7 separate regions of the Homo sapiens genome follow, and regions 1, 2, 3, 4, 5 and 7 are each linked to region 6. The links are contacts of gene promoters, found by promoter capture Hi-C in blood cells and fetal thymus (Javierre and others, 2016). All regions are on one chromosome and are shown on one strand. The core of a region is centred on a gene start or on the middle of the fragment in contact, and the rest is flanking DNA. Distances in the headings are between cores, read along the strand shown. Region 1 overlaps MED13L (mediator complex subunit 13L). Region 2 overlaps MED13L (mediator complex subunit 13L). Region 3 overlaps MED13L (mediator complex subunit 13L). Region 4 overlaps MED13L (mediator complex subunit 13L). Region 5 has its middle 71 kb from the start of LINC02463. Region 6 holds the start of RNFT2 (ring finger protein, transmembrane 2). Region 7 overlaps MED13L (mediator complex subunit 13L).

Region 1 (2,700 bases), core at 201-2,700, 730 kb after region 6:
TTTGTTAATTGTTTGAAGGTTAATTCCTTTGTGGTGGTACTAAGGCTAGTCATTGAGGTTAGAAATATGATTAAATTACCACCCTTATACTTGAGACACTCACAGACATAAGGAGAAATGGCACATAAAGTTATAATGTACTTATTGCTGTGAGTACAATAATAGACCTGAATCTAAAGTTGCTGGACATTCAGATACGACGTGACCAAGTGATGGGGAGCAGTGTTTAAGTTAAGGCTTGAAAGTTAAGTAGGAAACATTTCTAAAGCCCAAACTTTAAAATAAAATGTATCTAACAGATATTATATACCATTACTGTTATAAGTACTTAGAAGATGAGGAGATCATAATGGTCTGGAAGAATGGATTGTACTTGAAATATGGAAAGAAGGGGTCATTGAGAGGAAGGGGGAGGGACATTAGTTTAAGTGTGGAATGAGCCTTGATTAAACAACAAAAACGAACTAGATTAGCTTTCAGGGATAAGGAACAGACCATTGGTCTGTTTTTTTGGATGATTAGAGACTGATAGGTCTAGGAAAGTTTTGGATTTTAAACTGTACTAATATGTGTTCCTCTGAGGGCTGCTGAGTATAGAACTGAACTGGCAGAAGGGCTATTTTTTTTTCCAGTCTGATATGCCGAAAGCAGGAATCCTCTAATCTGGTAACTTTTGTTGGATTGGAACACTAGAATCTGAATTTATACAGTGGCCACATGAAGGAAAAGGACATGAAAATGTGAAAAACTCTGGTAGAAGAAATGACTCATTTCTTCATTGCTGATCCAGGCATTGAATTTGACTATCCACTGGAGGCCAAGTGCTGCCTGGGTTTGGTTTTAAAGATACAGAGGGTTAGGATAGGTGCTTTGGCAATGGTGATGGGAATCCAATATGAAAAGAAAAGGAGGTACAAGTCAAAGGAGGAGAAAGAAAGGAACAGAGCAAGCATTTTGGAGTGGCCTGCCTGATCTGTTCATGACCACCATCCTGGTAATTGTTTCTGCTCTGGGCCACTGAACTTATTCTTTGTATAAATTATGAATTACTATTAAGCTTAATGAAGAAATGTTTAACTGTTGGGAATATACTTTTAGTAATATTAACATGAAAAGGAGAATTGGACATTTTCAATCAAATTTTCATTTCTCTGAGTGTTTTTGCTTTACTCTGATTTTTAGTCTGGCATTTAATCACATGAGCGGTTTACCTTAGAATATATTGCTAATTCATCTTACTACTCGTAAATGGAGTTGGGAGGCTGTTGGCTGAGTTGTCATCTCATGTGTCTTTGAATTTAATTTTAATTTTACATTTCAATGTTGTGACATTGTATAAGTATAAATAAATAAAAGGCCTTCTATTTGTAAAAATCATTTTTTGCTTTATTTTATATTTTATTTTAATTCATCACCAGTTCATTTAATGTTAAAGATAATCTTGCCCAGTAATGCACTTGGTTTGTTTTTGAATAACAGATCAGAGAAAAACCTTCTGAATATTTCAATAATTTTACACAATAAGGTTATTTTTGGTGAAGATAAATAGTAACTATAAAAATAGGTACAGAAGATACATAGTTTGTTGTGATAAATGCAAAAAAAAAAAAAGAATTGGAGGGCTTGAGATTATGCCTTTTAGCTGCTTGCTTCCAAGTATAAGGGAAACCAGACCAATTGTCAGTTACTACTGGAGGCACCACCCTAATGTAACACTGTGTCCCTGAAAATTGACTTGGGAGGGAAGAATTGCTTAAGGTCTGCAAGCTCTCCTTTGATGGCGCAATCTGCCCTCACAAGATCCATGAAAAAAATTCACTGTTTCTTACACTTGATAAGCTTGTAACCATCTCCTTTGTTTCACTATCTGTTGGTATTTCTAGAGGTTCACCTGGTAAACGCTTCTACCAAGAGGCATCTACCAATAGGCATACATTAGGAAATATTTGAATGCTGCCCTACTTATATACACGTCACTCTGTTTTAATAACACCGTCTGTTCTTAGGCTGTATCACCTGCTCTGCGCTCATCAAAAATGCCTGCAGTTGGGACAGAAGACCGACCTCTTGGGAAGGATGGAAGAGCTGCTGTTCCTTATCCACCAAGTAGGTAGAGAAACTTGACTGAGCCATTGTGGCTCACTGCCTGTAACTTAGATATAATATTCTCATACTTAGTGGTGCTTTATCTTTATCTGAAATTTCCCTTCCTTTTGACAGAATTCTAACTGTGAATTAAAACCTATATAAATTGGTGTTCTGAGATGGCAGGCAGCTAATCATATACAGAAACCATCTTAATTTGAATTCCTTTCCTTTGTTTTCCAGTTAAGAATTAGCTTTTTATAGCTTAAAATGTAGAAAAACATGTTTTAGGTTTGTTTTTCTAATAGTCCTTTCCTAGTAGAATAAATGCTGCACAAGTGATTTTTCAAACTGATACTCTATTATAAGACTGTGTAAAATGTTTCTGTTTTTATAAATATAATTCACTCAAGGATATTGGATATTTGATTTCAGTGGTCCTTTTCAAGATGCATACTAAAGTTTTTGTGTTTCCTTTTGAGATCAACTAGTTTTACCATATATGCTGACAAAGAGATGAACCTCTTTTTTTTGAGTATATTCTTTGCCCTAAGAAACCAAATTATTCTACAAGAGGAAAAAAAAGGGTAGCTTATGTGGATACTCTGAAGCAGA
Region 2 (2,700 bases), core at 157-2,656, 750 kb after region 6:
GCACGGGCAGGACCTGGGAGAACATCCAGCATGTGCAGGGACCACTCACTTGGCAGCAGTTCCATAAAATGGCAGGACGGGGAACCTACGGTAGGGTCTTTGTCCTGTTTAAAATTCCTTCTGACTTCAGTGCTGTTCAGTGAAGAGCAGCGTTAGTTACTGTCAAGTCCTTGCGTCACTAACAAAATAGGGGAGTCTTTTTCTTTGACCATTTAGTTTTATAATCTCTTTGTTTTCCTAAAGTTACTTTTGGAGTCAAGTTTCCTACCACCCTTGGCATAATCCAGGTCAGTGAGGAAGCTAATCCCTAAAAAGTGCATTTTTTAGATTCTCCTCATTTTCCCAATCCTCACTGCATTTTCATCTGGATGGACTTCTGGGCCAGTTCTGTCTACTTCATCATAGTCAGAATCATAATGCTTATCTTGAAGGAAATGATGTAGTGCTGCTTGGAAAGTTAATTTTAACTTGTTCTAGTCTGCCCTCTGATCTTACTGAACCTTTATAAACAAATTCTGACTTACTTAATTAAGAGTCCTCATCAGTGACCATTTAATTAGATGATTTCAAAAATACTTTTAAGAATGTCTTGTGAACATGGAGTGACATTTCAGATGCCAGAATTAAGACCAGTGCACCAGGAATTTCAAAATTGTAAGGTTGTGGGAAAAACTCTCTAGCACCTTTCTACACTACAATGTCATTTTAGGTTCGGAAGAATCTCCTGAGCCGTTGCCCATCCCCACTCTGCTGGTAGGCTATGACAAGGATTTCCTCACCATCTCGCCATTCTCCTTGCCGTTTTGGGAGAGGCTCTTGTTGGACCCATATGGGGGCCACCGTGATGTTGCCTATATTGTGGTGTGTCCAGAAAATGAGGCCTTGCTCGAAGGAGCCAAAACTTTCTTCAGGGACTTGAGTGCTGTATACGAGGTGAGGAAGTTACTGTGAAAATTGCTTTTTATGACTTGGATCCTCTGATTGTTTATAGTGATGACTAAATTTCAAGACAAATGTCTTGAAAGTAAATCTCAGAGAAAATTTGCAAACAGGTGGATGAAGAAGAGAATTGAATTGGCCAATTTTTCTGGAAGCAAATTGCTTTCCCATCTTTGCTTTATATTTGTTAGATTTAGAAAACGTTCCCCTCCCATTCTTACCACACGTCTTAAAATCCCATCAGTTCTCTCTTCTCCATTTATGTGCTAAAAGTTGAAGAATATTGCTCACCAGGGGAAAGTGTGGCTATGTAGAAGATGAGCTTTACCAAAAGAGCACATCTACTCTTTGTATTTATTTACTGGATGGATTGAGGGACAGGGTGAGTAGGTGAGAGTTCCTGACAACAGTGTAAAAATGTGTCTTTTGCAAATTTCTGAATTGAAACATAAGTTTAATGAATAATGTCCCTGTTGTGTTTTAACATGACATCTTAATACTGAAACTTTGATACTGATTAAAAATATAATTCCTATAATAATGTAAAAACCAGGCAGATAATTTTACATCTTTAGTATATGAATTCCTGTTGCTTTAAAAAAAATAGAATCATGTCTGTCTTTGAAGAATAAGTGCCACATTTCTTATGCCAAAGTATATATGCACTAAGTTCTTTGTATCTGATACATCTAATGTCTTTGTATTCAGCAAAATGAAATTAATATCTGTAAAATATTTAGTACTATGATAGGCATGTAAACATTATGAAAGTGGTTTTTAAATAAGATTCCAAGCTGAATTGCAAAATATTCCAAAACAGGACATTCATGATCTATAAATGTATGAGTAGGCACGGAATAGTAAATTTACGTTGTTGCTACAAAGAAATGAGGAGATGCTAACATGATGTAATGACATCAATTAAGTCACTGCCTTGGATACATTCATTTCTGAACAGTGTCTGGTCAGGGCATATATAATACTATTAAATCATAATTAACAGAAAATTTGTGTAAGCAGTTTTAAAGCCCAGCCATTTCCTTGAATGGAACCTTCAACATAAGTTACAAAATGTAAAAAGCACTGCCAGATCTTTTTAAGAGGGTACAGACAGACACTCTTTTAAATTTTTCTTAATGACTTCACTAGGGTTGCTTATTCGGCAGTAATTGATACCTCCTTAGGAAGAGTATACACTAGAGGATTTTGTCGGGGCTTAGTAAGCCTTCACTTCATCTACTCTAGTAAGGGATAATAATACGGGCTCTCCTGCTGGTGAACAGGTAGTTTACTTTTTGCAGGTTTATTATATTCCCTGCCATAAGCACCCATTTAGCGTCATGGAGATTAATAGCAGAATCTCCTTGTCCTATTTACTTTAAAAAAAAAAAAGGCGATCAGCATACTCACTGCTTCAGTGGCCCCTGCTATTGGTGATCTCCAAATGTCTGTAACAGAACAGATGGCCCATAAAATTTTAATGTTATCTTATGGGAAAATATTATGAGTAGGGATTACTTAGGAGATTTTAGTGGGCATATGTCTCAGTTAGCAACAGTAGGCAGGAATCTGCTAATTCTTTGTCCGTTAGCAATCAGGTAGTGTTCAGCAGCCTCCTCTTGTACAGGAGGAATTGGCTTGAGTGAAGAAACATTTTTTTTTTTAGAGAGCCTAGTCCAAGTTTTAGAGAGACAGATAGCAATTTAAGGGTACATTACAATTACCTGAAAGGACCAACTTGTAATGTTGGTTTGATTGCAT
Region 3 (2,700 bases), core at 23-2,522, 650 kb after region 6:
ACTAATTTCTCATACTGCATATTTTAGATATTCTAATCATGGTGAAAAAATACTGATGAATGAGTTCTCCCTGTTAGAATAATAGCATATGATTTTTTGTGCTATAATTTCTTTCTGTACTCCTTTAAAGTTCTTGTGCTATGATTTCATTTACTAATGGACTCCTAAAAGGGTTCTTAATATTTGATATGAGTTGATGTTCAGGAGAATTCTAAAGTAGATTATTTGCATATTATATATTAAAAATATGTATTTGATTAGGTAGTTTTAGAAACATAGAAATTCATTCAATATAATTTTTTCTCTATATTGACATCTTTTATTATTCATATCCTTGGGAAAAGAATAAGTAGAAAATACAACTTTGGGTTTGCCCTTGAGTGGTGACAACTAAAATCAAACATACAAAATTTCTGTTTTCTAAGGTCTAGGTTGAACTTGAAAAAAAGCTTTTGCATTCAGAATATGTTTTAAAACAAACCGGTGAAAATCATTTGGAAATTATTCCAATCATGCAGGTTCTCTCTCTTGGGAAGGCATTTGTTTTCTAATTTAATCTCAATCCACATTTTATTACAGGAGAATTTGAAATCTATACACTTTAGTCTTTGAATGTCATTTTTAGGAAACAGTTTATTGCCCTCAATAACAGTGGGCCTTTGATCTTTTCTGGTATCAGGTATACAGAAGCTAAGTTAACAAAAATAGTAACTTGCTAATTCATTTTCTGGGTTAATTTGCTGTCACTGACTCTTGGGCAAATCTACTCTGTTCTTGGGTGATACTCCAGAGAGCATCACATGTTTTCAGATATTCTAATTACTTTTGTATGTGCTGATAGCACATGTGCACACACCCCCCCCACCACACATATACCCATACACACTGAAAGTATATTACTTTAACTATCGTTTTTGTCTTCTCTCCTCTTAACTTCAGACTTTTTAAAACTTCTTTTTTATTTTCTTAGATTACCTAACATACATATTTAAGAAATGTAAATACGTTTTTTGGTTTAATAGCAAAGCGTGTATTTTGTGTAACAATACATTATTAACTCATACCAGAAATGTTTTGATGTAGGAGAACCATATTTAGTATTTTGAAACTTTCCCTTCCTTTCCTTATTTCATCCTCCCCTCCCCTTTATCTCCTCAAAGATAACAACCTGCTATTCCATTTTCTGAATTAATTAGCTATCACTGACTCATGGGCAAACCTGCCCTGTTCTTGAGTGGTACGCCTTCTCTCCATCCTCCTCTTTTTCCCCAGACTCTGTTATAGCCCAGTCATCTGTGTTATTTAGCTTTTAGAGATGCCCAGATAAGAAGGCGGAGAAGGGATCCCTAGTCTAGAAGGTGAGCAGACACTTCAAGTGTGAACGGTAAAGCAAGCCTCTTTTTAGTGTCCAGAAAAATGAGATCAGTAGCTATCTATGATTTTTTCTGTTTTACTCATAAATTTACTTTGCACATGTGGTGCCTATCTGTTAATAAGGGCTTGCTGATGGGAAGTCCATAGACAAATATTAATGGGACAATTTGGACTTACATAATCATGCATAATAGTTTTACAGCTTTTTTTTGGTAGCTCTATAAAACATTTACTCATTTTCTGAGAGTCTATCTGAGGGAGTTACAGTATTCTGCCATTTGAATATATTTGGGGATTGTGTGAAAAGTGAGTTAGAGTCTTGGGGATCATCAACATTTGTAGAATGGGTACAGAAACAAGAATACATAAAGGAGACTGAAGAGTCAACTGGAAATGAGAACCAAGAGAGACTGGTGTTACCAGAACCATGGAATTTTAAAGTTTCAAGATTGATCAGCTGTGTCTGCCATAGAGGCATGTAAAACATGTACTATAAAGACTATTAGATTTGGCAATTATGTAGTCATGGTGACTATAACATTGGCAGTTTCAAGTGGTGAAATTCAGATTGCAGTAGCTTGCATTATAAATGGGAGTTGAAGTGAAGATACTGAATGTAGAGCTTTTGCAGTAGTTTTTACAAGTAGCTGCAAAACACAAAACTGTTGATTCCAGGAAGGGAGCAGACAAACACTTAATAAGGGCTTGTGATAAAGCTTAATAGTGGTAGCTATAATTTTAAAAAGTATCTTTCGTGTACCAGGTACTTTGCTCTGTAGTTTCATAAACATATATAGGGGAATGTTAAATTGAAAGACCACTTCAGCCAGAGGTGATGATAGTTAAATACAGTATTTGCTTTCTATCCAACTCTTCTAGTTTTTCCTTTTTTTCTTAATAACTTAAAAGAAGTTATGACTGTTAGTTTTTATTTTTCATTTGTGCTATTAGTGGTCTAAACAGTATATGTCAACAATAATTATTGATTTTTACACTTTAAAGTAAAATATATTTAAATATGTGCTATTTTCAAGAAGGATTGAAAATACCTTATAGTAAAAGAGATACCTTGTTTTTTAAATTCTTTTTTATAGTAAAAGATATACCTTGTTTTTTAATTCTTTTTTTTTTTTTTTTTTTTTGAGACAGAGTTCCGCTCTGTCACCCAGGCTGGAGTGCACAGGTGCGATGTCAGCTCACTGCAATGTCCTCCAGGTTCAAGCAATTCTCCTGCCTCAGCCTCCCAAGTAGCTGGGATCACAGGCATGCATCACCAACACCTGGCTAATTTTGTATTTTTAGTAGAGACGGGATTTCACCATGTTG
Region 4 (2,700 bases), core at 100-2,599, 680 kb after region 6:
GTTCAATAGAAAACCAATAGAGGGAGGTTGAGGTGGGCAGATTGCTTGAGCTCAGGTGTTCGAGACAAGCCTGGCCAACATGGTGAAACACTGTCTCTACCAAAAATACAAAATATTAGCTGGTCTTGGTGATTCATGCCTATGGTCCCAGCTACTCTGTAGGTTGAGGTGGAAGGATCACTTGAGCCTGGGAGGTGGAGGTTGCAGTGAGCTGAGATTGCTCCACTGCACTCCAGCCTGGGTGTCAGAGCAAAATCCCATCTCAAAAAAACAAAAAACTGCACTACAGGCATGCACCACCATACCCAGAAAAAAGAAAATCAATAGAAGAGAATTGATTCAAGGTATTAATGTTAGCATGTGACTGTAATAGTTCATAATTTGGATTTCGGATAGAATTTTCCTTCCTTTTTTTTTTTTTTTTTTCGATGTGGAGTCTTGCTCTGTCTCCCAGGCTGGAGTGCAGCGGTGTGATCTCGGCTCACTGCAAGCTCTGCCTCCCGGGTTCACGCCATTCTCCTGCCTCAGCCTCCTGAGTAGCTGGGACTACAGGTGCCCGCCACCATGCCTGGCTAATTTTTTGTATTTTTAAGTAGAGATGTGGTTTCACTGTGTTAGCCAGGATGGTCTCGATCTCCTGACCTCATGATCAGCCTGCCTCGGCCTCCCAAAGTGCTGAGATTACAGGCGTGAGCCACTACGCCTGGCCTTGAATTTTCCTTTCTGATATGTTTTGTAACATGCTTATTTGAACTGTAAAATTTAAAATCTATTCCCAAACTCACATTAGGTAATTTGGGATGCGCATTGATGAAGGGATGATTTCATTCTGATTTGTGGTGGAGACTGTACTTAATTTTAGTAACTATCATGTCCTGAAGGTTATCACTTATTTTATCTTATTTTATGTTTATATATCTATGAGGTAGGCATTATTATCTTACTTTGTAGCATTGAAAACTGAAATACCGAGAAGTTAATTGACTTAAGGCAGCTTATAATAGGTAAGATGTAAACTCAGTTCTGCCTAATTGTATAACCCTCTGACATTGCCTTTCCTAGTGTTGAGAAATTGAGAATTTATTGTATACCTTAAAAATAAAAGATACATATTATTTGTAACTACTCTATATTTAAAAATAAAAATGCATCTGGATTTAAATACAACAATTTTATAATATGGAATTAAAAAAAACAGTTAATGTTTAGCTGTGAAAATAAACGAGTCTCATGACTTAAAAAAGAAAGTTAAATCTTGTCCTCTACCCACCCAGTTGCTTTAAAATAACTTAGAATGTTCTCAGTTAAAGATGAGAAAAGTAATCTATAGTCTTACTAAGTTAGTTTCCTGAGACCTCATATAGAAGCATTTAACTTAATGATCAGCTTGTTTATTGGCATGAGTGGAGTCTCAGAGATGGGAGGAGAAGAAGGCAGGAGATAGAAAATAAAAGAAGACACATATGCCCACATGCCATCATCTTGAGCTTTCAGTTTCTCATTTTAAAGATGATGCCATGTATGTGTCATAACTTCCTTCTCATCTCATTGCTTTCACTTCCATTTATCTTTAGTGAATTAATTTAGCAAAAGTCAAAGCTCCGTAAAGCAAGTATCTCGTGTGTGTGTGTGCTTAAGATAATAGTTGAACCTAAAATTTCCTTCCACAATACAGTCTAACAATTGGCATACATACTGTTGCTCTTAACATCTGAGACCTTAAAATATTTCTCCAATTTTTAATACTGTTTTTAACCCAAAGTAGTACTTTCAGTTAATTGTAATGTGAAAAAAGTGTACAGAATCATTGTCTTTATATTGTCTTTTGCAAATTTTTAGTTTTTTTTTTTTTTTTCCCTTGGAGTCTTGCTCTGTCGCCCAGGCTGGAGAGTTCAGTGGCATGATCTCGGCTCACTACAACCTCCACCTCCTGGGTTCAAGCAATATTCCTGCCTCAGCCTCCCGAGTAGCTGGGACTACAGGCACCCGCCACAGTGCCCGGCTAATTTTTTGTATGTTAATAGAGACGGGGTTTTACCGTGTTGCCCAGGCTGGTCTCAAACTCCTGACCTCAAGTGATCTGCCTGCCTCAGCCTCCCAAAGTGATAGTATTACCGGCGTGAGTTACCACGCCCGGCCTGTTTTTGTGAATTTTTCAAAATTAACTTTTTTTTTTTAATTTGAGGCTTATTAGAAATGTGTCTAATTCGAATAGAGTGGCAACTACTTGAGACAGTTTTAATGATCCAGAGAATGCTCCAGGCCCACAGAATGATGAGAGTGTCCTGGGCAGTGTTTTGTGATCCCTCCAGGAGCAATCTTGCGCTTAGTTTGCATTCCTCTCACAGTGTACACAGTCCAGCAGTGAAACTGCATACTGCACCTCTAGTATTAGAGGGTTTTTTTGCCCTGCAGTGTAGAAAAGACAAAGATTTTCCAAGCGTTTTCTTTAAGGGGTTCTATATCACAGTGATTTGTTTTGTTTCTTGTATATTTCAGTTTGTATTATGTAAAAAGTAATAGTGTATACATCAGATTTAAATAATAATTTAAAGCCTTTTTCTCCGTGCCTCCTTTATGTTTTTTACTCTTAATCCATTTTTCTTTTCCATCATTCTTCAAATATTAATTAAATTTAATAATTTATCTAAAAGCATATGTATTTAAAAATATATTTAAAAGCATAAAATACTTTTACAG
Region 5 (2,700 bases), core at 60-2,559, 780 kb after region 6:
TTTTCCCTTCCTCTCCTGCCTTTGTATAAAATTATCTACACCTGTTTGAGAGGTGCATGTATATGTATTGAATAGCCCTAGATTAGTAGCCAGGCCTCTACCTTCCAGTCAGTGCAATGGATGTAGAATTTTACCACCCTGATCACCCCCCTAACAGCTGTTCTGAAATGGTATTCTCATGCTCCAGGGCACAAGTACACTCCCCCATCAGTTTTTACATGCTAACACACACAACACCGAATCAACTGCTGTGAGTCGATGAGCTCTAATGGTGTCTCTCAGCTGTAAGATTGTGGTCAATTCTAGCACAAATGACAAGTCTGTATCTTATATTCCACCGCCTTTCTCTACACAGTCTCAGCCAGTTTCTTTATGATGTCTCTTAGAAATGACAGATACATCTCTCTCTGCTGTTTTCCTGATTCACAGGCTGGTGACGGGAGTTTGGCATCTGATACACCACACGCAAGTCCCTGTTGGCTGCACACCATCTACCATGCTGTTCCCTTCTTGGGTCCATCAGCTAGGAAAAGCCACATGTTCTAGCAGGAGTTGCGAGGGTATATTTCGTATACTGCCCTTGCAAAATCTCTCATTAAAAATGGTTAAACCCCAGGACTTGGCAGAGCTTACAATAAACATTTGAATAATTGGAAAGGCCTTGCTTTTAATCTGCCTTCATCATTTTAGAAATATACGTTGTTCTGAACCTAACATTATCAGAATCCAGAGATAAAGCTATTGAGACAACTCAACCTTCTGTTACTTCATCTGCAAATGAGGGATGAGGATGATTGCATGAGAAATGCTTTGCAAACTAAAAGGCTTGTATCCATGTTACAGCTGCACTGTTGAAGAAAGACTGAGAAAAGTGAGGCCAACTTTTTGGTTAAAAAATAATAGTGATCTCATCCAGTTACTGCCTTACATATATAACTTTTATATAGTCCTGCAGCAGCTAAATAATCAGAACTAGGAGGTACTTTTACAAGCATTCAGTAGCTTCAATGCTTAGCTCATACGTTGGGTGGTACTATATTCAACAATTAGTGTTGGCTTTATAGTAGGAATGTCATTTTCATAAGTGCCCCCACCTGTACCAATTCAGCAACCGCAGCTAAATCTCTTTGAGGTAGGATAAATGAATGCATTTAAATGTCTTCCAAGTTAGATGTAGATAAGCCATCAGCCTTCAGCAGTTTGCATCACCCAGATTCTGCTCTTCACACCAGTTCATTCCCTCCAACCATGTGATTATGTAGTTTTTGGTTTTACTGTTCAGGAAGTCATGAGCAAAGGTATTTGTTACCAACTGGGCATCAAAGAACCACTAAAAATCTTTATAAAAGTACAGTTCGTCAATGAGTTTTTAAAAGCAAACCTCGTAAGACATACTGCAGAAGCATAAGCCACATATTGAAAACAGTCTTTGCCGCTTGTCATTTACAGTCAAGCCAGTATAAAAAGGAAATCGTGCTTTGGAATTCACCGCACGCCCAAATCCTATCAAGATGCAATTTTCACTTATTACCGTGTTATTTTGGTGTTAAACGATTCTCTTGTTTATATTCCCTTGACAAAAAGGTCACTTTAGCAGTAATTATTTCATGTCATTAATACCTAATGAGACACCACTAGAAAATTCTGTTGTGCCAGGTAATTATAGAGGGTTGTAATGTTTGCCCTGGGCATCCTGCTCTGCCTGGAACCAGATTTACCAGTCTTCCTCCACTTTGCTTACAATTCCAGGGTCACGTTTAAAAAAGATTTTTTGACACTTAACTGCTTCTAGCTAGAACGCTAAATCATGAAGCAGTTAAGAAATAGAAGTTGATGAGAAAGTTTAATCTCCAGGAAGAAGGTTGGACATAACCAAAGTATTGATTTTTCTCTGTAAAGGCTATTTCCTCAATGAATTCAAGTTCCCAGGTGATGGGAAGACCCGAAGACAGACATTCCTGTTAGTCCCACTTTTTCTTTGTTTTCTTTCAAACAAGCAGGGAAGTGAGGAAAGCACAGGTTCAGTTTTAATAATCTGCTAACATGGCACTTGTCTGGGCTGTTACCCATATGGGTCAAACCATGTCTGTCCTGGAGTGTGCTTGAAATTCACCCAGTGATCACAGCATGCAGACACGTTGAAATTGGCAGCATCTCTGAGCATTTCTCTGGCTCCTGCTGCCTAGTGTATACCTCTTTTGCCTTGCTGTTGGGTGAGGCATGTTTCAATCTACTTGTTTTATAAGACTAGACAATATTCAGTAAAATGGGCCACCCCAGAGCTTAGAACAGAAGCTCTGGGAAAAAAAATATCTAATACGAGGAAGTATTCGTTGTGGGGGAATGTCAATTTAAATAATTTAACATGTAAAATAGTAATTGTCTTAATTTAGGCTATAACGTTTTTCAGTAAGCATTTTCACGTTAGCTTCTCATAAATCTTAGTTTGTTCACTTAGAGGTCTTGATGTTCTTATTAATTTCGATACATTATTTACATATATAATTTCCTGTCTGCTTCCTTTGAAGTATGTGATTTTTTTTTTAATTGTAGAGGAGACACAGTTTCTGTAATTATACATACACCAGTGTTTTTTGTTGTTGCTATTTCTTGTATTACTGCAAAGCTTAGGAGGTTTTCTCTCTTAGGTCTAGGGGTCAAGATCACGTTTGCTTGATAAGATGAACCAATGAACTTCCC
Region 6 (2,700 bases), core at 160-2,659:
TTTCCCACTCCTGTCCACCCACAGTGGCCCTTCTGTTCCTCTAATGTGTCAGCGTGTCCCTGCCTCAGGGCCTTTGCACTTGCTGTGCCCTCCCCTTGGAATACTTTCTCCTCTAAATGTGGCAGGGCTTGGTCCCGCAGGGCAAATGTCGTCTCTTCCCAGAGGCCTTCTCTTCTCATTCTCCTGACTCCCCGTAATATTGCCCTGTTTTATATTATTCATAGCACTTATTTGTTCATGTTTGCTTATTTATTTATGATTTGTCCTCCCCATTAGAATATAAATGCCATTCCTGAAAGTAGGGATCCTGTCTACTTGGATCACCCCTCTGCCTCAGCATCCAGGACACTGTTTGGCACAGAGTGGCGCTCAACAAGTATTTACTCAATGAATAAAACATCTATGGGTCTCCCAGTTCCCCTTTTCTAGATCCCTTGCTCCCTGTCCCACCTTTCACCCTAGCAAGGTAATAAGGGCCATCTACTTCCCATGAAAAGGTTTAGCCTCCGTGAATATCTTCTTGTCTCTGGAGGCAGAGCCAATATTGTGGATATAGGGTGTCTATATCAGTCAGATGGTGTCTGACTTCAGTTTAGGGCACGATTATTGGCTGTTGAATGACTTCCTAATCCTGACCAGGCTTCTTGAGGGGGCAGCAATGGTGTCACTAGGGCCACTGATTAAAAATGACCCGCCAGTGAAGCCTCCTTTCTCTTTTGAAAAATTAGGTAACAAACCGGTCAGCAGCAGCATCTTCATATATCAAGAAAAGGTCATTATATAAATATTTTTCAAGAATTTGCAATCTCAACTTAATCCTCCTCTCGCCCCTCCCTCCATTATCCCACATTGCAAATCCTTGGGGGAAAATAAAATTCATATTCCAAAGTTCTCATCCACACATTTAACTCCTAAATCGAATGCTCGAAACTCTACTTTCGGATGCTTGTATTGGAAGAGGCTTCGGATTCTTTGTCGGAAGCAGGCCGTACATAATTCTGGAATAAATTTTTGCACGCGGGATGCATCTGAATGAATGAAACGCTTTTTAATCCTCTGCTCTGTACATCCCACTATGTCCCTTTGAAGGACCGCACCGAGACTTTTCGATGCTTGCGATGGTTCAAGTTGCGCCCCTGGGGCCCGTTACAGGACTGCACCGAAATGCACTCAGAGGAGCATCGCCTGCATCACTTGGACTGGAAGCCGGCAGGTGCACTTCGGGAACAACGTCGCGAGCGCTTTTCATCCCTGCAACCAACACACAGCGCAAAACGCTCTGGGACTGCAAGGGCAGGAGACTACACAGACCATGATGGGAGAAAAGAAAAAAAAATCGCGTTCTCTTTTTACCTGCCCAGACAATTCAGCAATCACAGCCGCATCATTCAGGTCCAGCCAAGCCAATCACCCGCGCAGCCTGGGCAGCATGTGACTTCCGATGCTTCCGGCCTCCTATTGGGTGGTTTCTTGGCGTCGCCGGGTCCGGCGCTAGGACCCGGGCACAGCTACGCCCGCAGCACTCACGCGATTGTCCGCCCCCTTTCCCGGCACTTAACCAATAGGAGGCCGCCGTTCCTTAGGGACCAATGGTGAGAAGATCTTGCGCGACTAGCCCTTGTCGCTGCGGAGCGGAGGCGGGGCGTAGGGCGGGGTCACGTGGGGCTGCGCCCAAGGCTGCCGGGAGCAGACTGGGCTGCGGGCGGCGGGGCCGGCGCCTGCCTGGAGGGATGGGGCTGCCGGGCGCGTAGGGGCCATGCCGCCCGGGACCCGGGCCTGCCGCGTTCCGCGCCCCGGCCGCCGCGCCCCACGTCCGCGCCGGGATGGTGAACCTGGCGGCCATGGTGTGGCGCCGGCTTCTGCGGAAGAGGTGGGTGCTCGCCCTGGTCTTCGGGCTGTCGCTCGTCTACTTCCTCAGCAGCACCTTCAAGCAGGTCAGTGGCCGCCCTTCCCCTCCTCCCCTTCCCTTCTTCCTTCCTTCCTCCCCCTTACTTTACTTTCTCCTTCCTTCCTTCGTTACCTTCCTCCTTTTTTCCTTCCTCCCTGTCTTCCTACCCCTTCCCTTCCTTTCTTTCTCCCCTTCCCTTCCTTCCTCCTTCCTTCCCTTCTTCCTACCTCCCCTCCTTCCTTATCTTCCTCCTTCCTTCCCCTCTCCCTGCCTCCCTTCCTTCCTTACCTTCCTCACCTTCCTCCTCCTTCCTTCCTCCCCCTTTCCTTCCTCCCCCTTCCCTTTCTTCTTTCCTCCCCTTTTTCCTCTCCCTTCCCTTCCGTCTTTCTTCCTTCCCTTCCTCCTTCCGTCCTCCTCCTTTCTGTCCCCCTCTCCCTTCCTTCTTCCTTTACTCCCTTTCTTCCCTGACATCCTCTTTCCTCACTTCGTTCTTCCTCCTTCCTTCCCTTCCTCCTCTTTTTCCTTACTCCTCGCGTTTGTCCGACCTCCCGACTTCTGCAGCGGCGCCGCCGGGGCGTCCGAGGGTGGGGAGAGGTGCGCATTCCTGTCCCGGTCTCAGCACGGGTGAGGGACCTGCCCACCGCCTTGGTCCCTGCAGCGGGAAGGGGTTGCTAGGCCAGGGCAGAGCTGGGACTAGAACCCCGAGTTGAGGACCCTTCAGCGGTGGGGACTGCTTTTATGAACACCTCCCTGCTTTTCACCTGCCCGGTCCAGAGCTAAGAGAGGGCGTGCATTTGCTGGCTTCATCTTCG
Region 7 (2,700 bases), core at 1-2,500, 720 kb after region 6:
AGCACCCTTTCCTACCAAAATATAAAGTTGAGTTTCTCATTCTCTCTTTTGTAGTGAGCATTTGTCCTGTGCTTTCACATTCTTTCTGCATGGAGAAAGTAATGTATGCACAAGTGTGGAGATTGCCCAGCACCAGCCAATTTATTTGATCAATGAGGAGCATATACACATGGCTCAGTCTTCACCTGCACCATTTCAAGGTAAGTATGGGTGTTCCTGCTCTCCACCCCTATCCGCCACCGAGTGGATAACCATCTTGCCCAGTAAAGTTTTGCAGGGTGAGACCTTATCTTAAATGGACATTTTAAAGCTAAGCATAAGGGTCAGATTTTGAAGAAGGAAGAAAAGACTACCATTTCATAATTAAGTAGTAATAGTGTGTTAGTTTTTCGCTGAAGCTTATCGCATATATAAGATGGTCTTATGTGTATTCTTTTGTAAGAATAAAATGTAGAATTTCCTTCAGAACAAAAGAAAATCAATAAATACTTGAAAAATAGAATTCAATGAGTAATTGACCAAAGTCACAAATTAAAGGTTTTCATTGTTGTGTTTATTAACAAGGTTTTAGGAATGTAATGGTTTATAGAAGATAAACCAAATACTTAGTATTTGAAATTTCTATCAGAATCAAAGTTCTAGAATTATACAGTGTATAGTTTCTTCAGCGATGTTCCTAACTTTGTTTTAATTTTAAACTCCATTGGTAATAGGTATTTAGCTGTAATTTAAATGTAATTGATACATTCATATTTTCATTAATTCTCAGCTTTACCACCTATATATCACCAAAATAACTTCATGTCCTTTTGATCTGAGCATTACAAATCTTAGTTTTGTCTTTGGAATTCAGAATTTTCTGTGAGTAACAGCTTTTAAATGTTATAATATTAGATTGAACCGTATGGAAACAATCTTTTTTTGGTTCAGTCTAATATGTCATTATTAGAGATGACTGGTTGAAATAGTCTTAGCATATCACACAATATAATTTTAAAAAACACTGATATTTTAACAGACTTGACTAAAATATTATAATTGCTGTAAAAGCCTGTCATGAGCATTTAGCCTCCATTGTATTTATTTTTTGTTTTCTATAAACTATTCTGATTTAATTCAATGAAAGCATCTGTTTCTTGCCCCAAATATAATAAAACTACTAGAAAATTCAAAACCCAATTCTTAAACTGTACAGTACAAATTGTACAGTATTTGCAAATTATGGCTTATCAGAATTTTTAAAATACTGTTTTCTTGAGTGTAAAAGTGCTGAGGACCATCTGACTCCATCCAACATTTTATCACTCAGAATAAAAGCATTTAGTTATGGTAATAACAGAGGAATAAGTAGTCATGAGGGAAGAGAACTTATTTCTAATCTTCAATGTTGGGAACAATAATATTAGGAATACCAGGTCCCTATAGACCACTTTTAATTTTTCTGATTTTTGTCACTGATGGAAGTCATAGAATACTTTTGTGGAGCATTATTCTGCTTATTTTCCATGATTGGTGTGGAGGAAGACCATACTAAGGCAGTTGCTGTCCTTATGGATAATTATATTCATCATAATTATCCAAATTGATGTGGGAATTTCCTGGAAGCATTATTGCAAAAAAATTACCCTTGATTAACTGTGTTAGTTGGAGTCAGTATTTTTATCCCATTTGGATCATTGAGGAACAGCAGAAAGACTCAACGATACATGTGATGTCTATAACTGTCTCTCTCTTGATTGATGTGACATATGATCTAGCTCTTTAAAAAAATTAAAAAAAAGACATTCCGTTTAATGACCATGCTGAGTTTTTGTTAAAAATTAGAATTAAGAAAAAGTGGCCTTTATCTTCAGAAACGTATTATTTGGAAGATTGAAGTACTCACTTCAAGGCTATGAACTGGCTGGGTAATTCACAGTACTATATTAACTATATTTTTGTGTCTGACTCAGTGAAAATGCCATCAAGGTCAAATACTGAAAGAAGATAGAGGACTTTGGGTCCTTTACTTTGAGTTAAATCAAATTTTACTTAGAGTTGTTTTATCAACAGACCTCTAAAACAGTCAAAACAGAAACGATAACTATTATGCTTCAAGCTTTTGTACATTAAAACTTTCCCACTGTTAGAAATTTCATTTATATGTTATTCTTTGATTACCACAGATGTTTAGGGAGTCTCAGGAACCACAAGAGTGTTCAAGTTTTAGGCAGCATTTGCGGTCTCCATGTTGAATGATTTTCTTCTGTTTTGAGAGAGTCAGTGTTTACATTGTACAGGCTATTATTAAACAGATATGTATATGCTTCAAAGCATAGCTGTCTGATAACATTGTACTATCCATATTTTATTTCGTTTAAAAATTGTGGGAGGTGAGAGGTGTATAAATAATAAGAAATTTTAAAACAAGAAACTTCAAAATATCATACTTTTGTGGCTAAGGCGGGAGCATCACTTGAGCCTGGGAGTTCAAGACCAGCCTGAGCAACATAGTGAGACCCAGTCTCTACAAAAATAATTTTTAAAAAAATTTCTTTTAAATCATACTTTAAATAGAGTTAGGAAATAAAGAACAATGCACATTAAGTGATACTGTAACCTAAAATTACCACATATGTAGTGTTGCACTTAAGTAGGAATTATTTCTCTAATGTTTAGCATGTATTTCTCCTCCCCTCCATAGTACTGGTAAGTCCTTAT

The links. Contacts are between HindIII fragments. The CHiCAGO score rates a contact against its expected background, and 5 or more counts as called.
Region 1: a fragment that was not itself captured here is called in contact with the fragment with the promoter of RNFT2 in region 6 in 1 of 17 cell types (naive CD4 T cells); the score reaches 7.7 in naive CD4 T cells.
Region 2: a fragment that was not itself captured here is called in contact with the fragment with the promoter of RNFT2 in region 6 in 1 of 17 cell types (monocytes); the score reaches 6.9 in monocytes.
Region 3: a contact is called between a fragment that was not itself captured here and the fragment with the promoter of RNFT2 in region 6, in 1 of 17 cell types (monocytes). The highest score is 5.2, in monocytes.
Region 4: a fragment that was not itself captured here is called in contact with the fragment with the promoter of RNFT2 in region 6 in 1 of 17 cell types (total CD4 T cells); the score reaches 5.2 in total CD4 T cells.
Region 5: a fragment that was not itself captured here is called in contact with the fragment with the promoter of RNFT2 in region 6 in 1 of 17 cell types (monocytes); the score reaches 5.8 in monocytes.
Region 7: a contact is called between a fragment that was not itself captured here and the fragment with the promoter of RNFT2 in region 6, in 1 of 17 cell types (monocytes). The highest score is 5.5, in monocytes.

What each region holds. Positions count from the first base shown.
Region 1 is chr12:116,002,409-116,005,108 of GRCh38, reverse strand. MED13L (mediator complex subunit 13L) reads left to right here. Exons shown (of 31, transcript NM_015335.5): 14 at 2,007-2,106. Among named protein-coding and RNA genes, the nearest start is that of LINC02463, 120 kb to the right of the region's middle. The HindIII fragment of the contact is 782 bases long and covers 1,060-1,841 here.
Region 2 is chr12:115,984,499-115,987,198 of GRCh38, reverse strand. MED13L (mediator complex subunit 13L) reads left to right here. Exons shown (of 31, transcript NM_015335.5): 18 at 1-90; 19 at 710-933. Among named protein-coding and RNA genes, the nearest start is that of LINC02463, 100 kb to the right of the region's middle. The HindIII fragment of the contact is 3,827 bases long and covers 1-2,700 here.
Region 3 is chr12:116,090,937-116,093,636 of GRCh38, reverse strand. The region is part of intron 4 of MED13L (mediator complex subunit 13L); the gene reads left to right. Among named protein-coding and RNA genes, the nearest start is that of MIR620, 56 kb to the left of the region's middle. The HindIII fragment of the contact is 1,641 bases long and covers 452-2,092 here.
Region 4 is chr12:116,059,735-116,062,434 of GRCh38, reverse strand. All of the region lies in intron 4 of MED13L (mediator complex subunit 13L), which reads left to right. Among named protein-coding and RNA genes, the nearest start is that of MIR620, 88 kb to the left of the region's middle. The HindIII fragment of the contact is 3,433 bases long and covers 1-2,700 here.
Region 5 is chr12:115,955,862-115,958,561 of GRCh38, reverse strand. No RefSeq gene overlaps it. Among named protein-coding and RNA genes, the nearest start is that of LINC02463, 71 kb to the right of the region's middle. The HindIII fragment of the contact is 2,639 bases long and covers 1-2,628 here.
Region 6 is chr12:116,737,024-116,739,723 of GRCh38, reverse strand. RNFT2 (ring finger protein, transmembrane 2) reads right to left here and starts at 1,409. Exons shown (of 11, transcript NM_001382266.1): 1 at 1,354-1,409. It overlaps SPRING1 (SREBF pathway regulator in golgi 1), which reads left to right and starts at 1,655. Exons shown (of 5, transcript NM_024738.4): 1 at 1,655-1,934. The coding sequence starts at 1,824. RefSeq lists enhancers at 1,127-1,386, 2,155-2,700 and silencers at 1,577-1,836, 1,917-1,966. The HindIII fragment of the contact is 21,202 bases long and covers 1-2,700 here.
Region 7 is chr12:116,019,956-116,022,655 of GRCh38, reverse strand. It overlaps MED13L (mediator complex subunit 13L), which reads left to right. Exons shown (of 31, transcript NM_015335.5): 5 at 55-200; 6 at 2,684-2,700. Among named protein-coding and RNA genes, the nearest start is that of MIR620, 130 kb to the left of the region's middle. The HindIII fragment of the contact is 1,700 bases long and covers 401-2,100 here.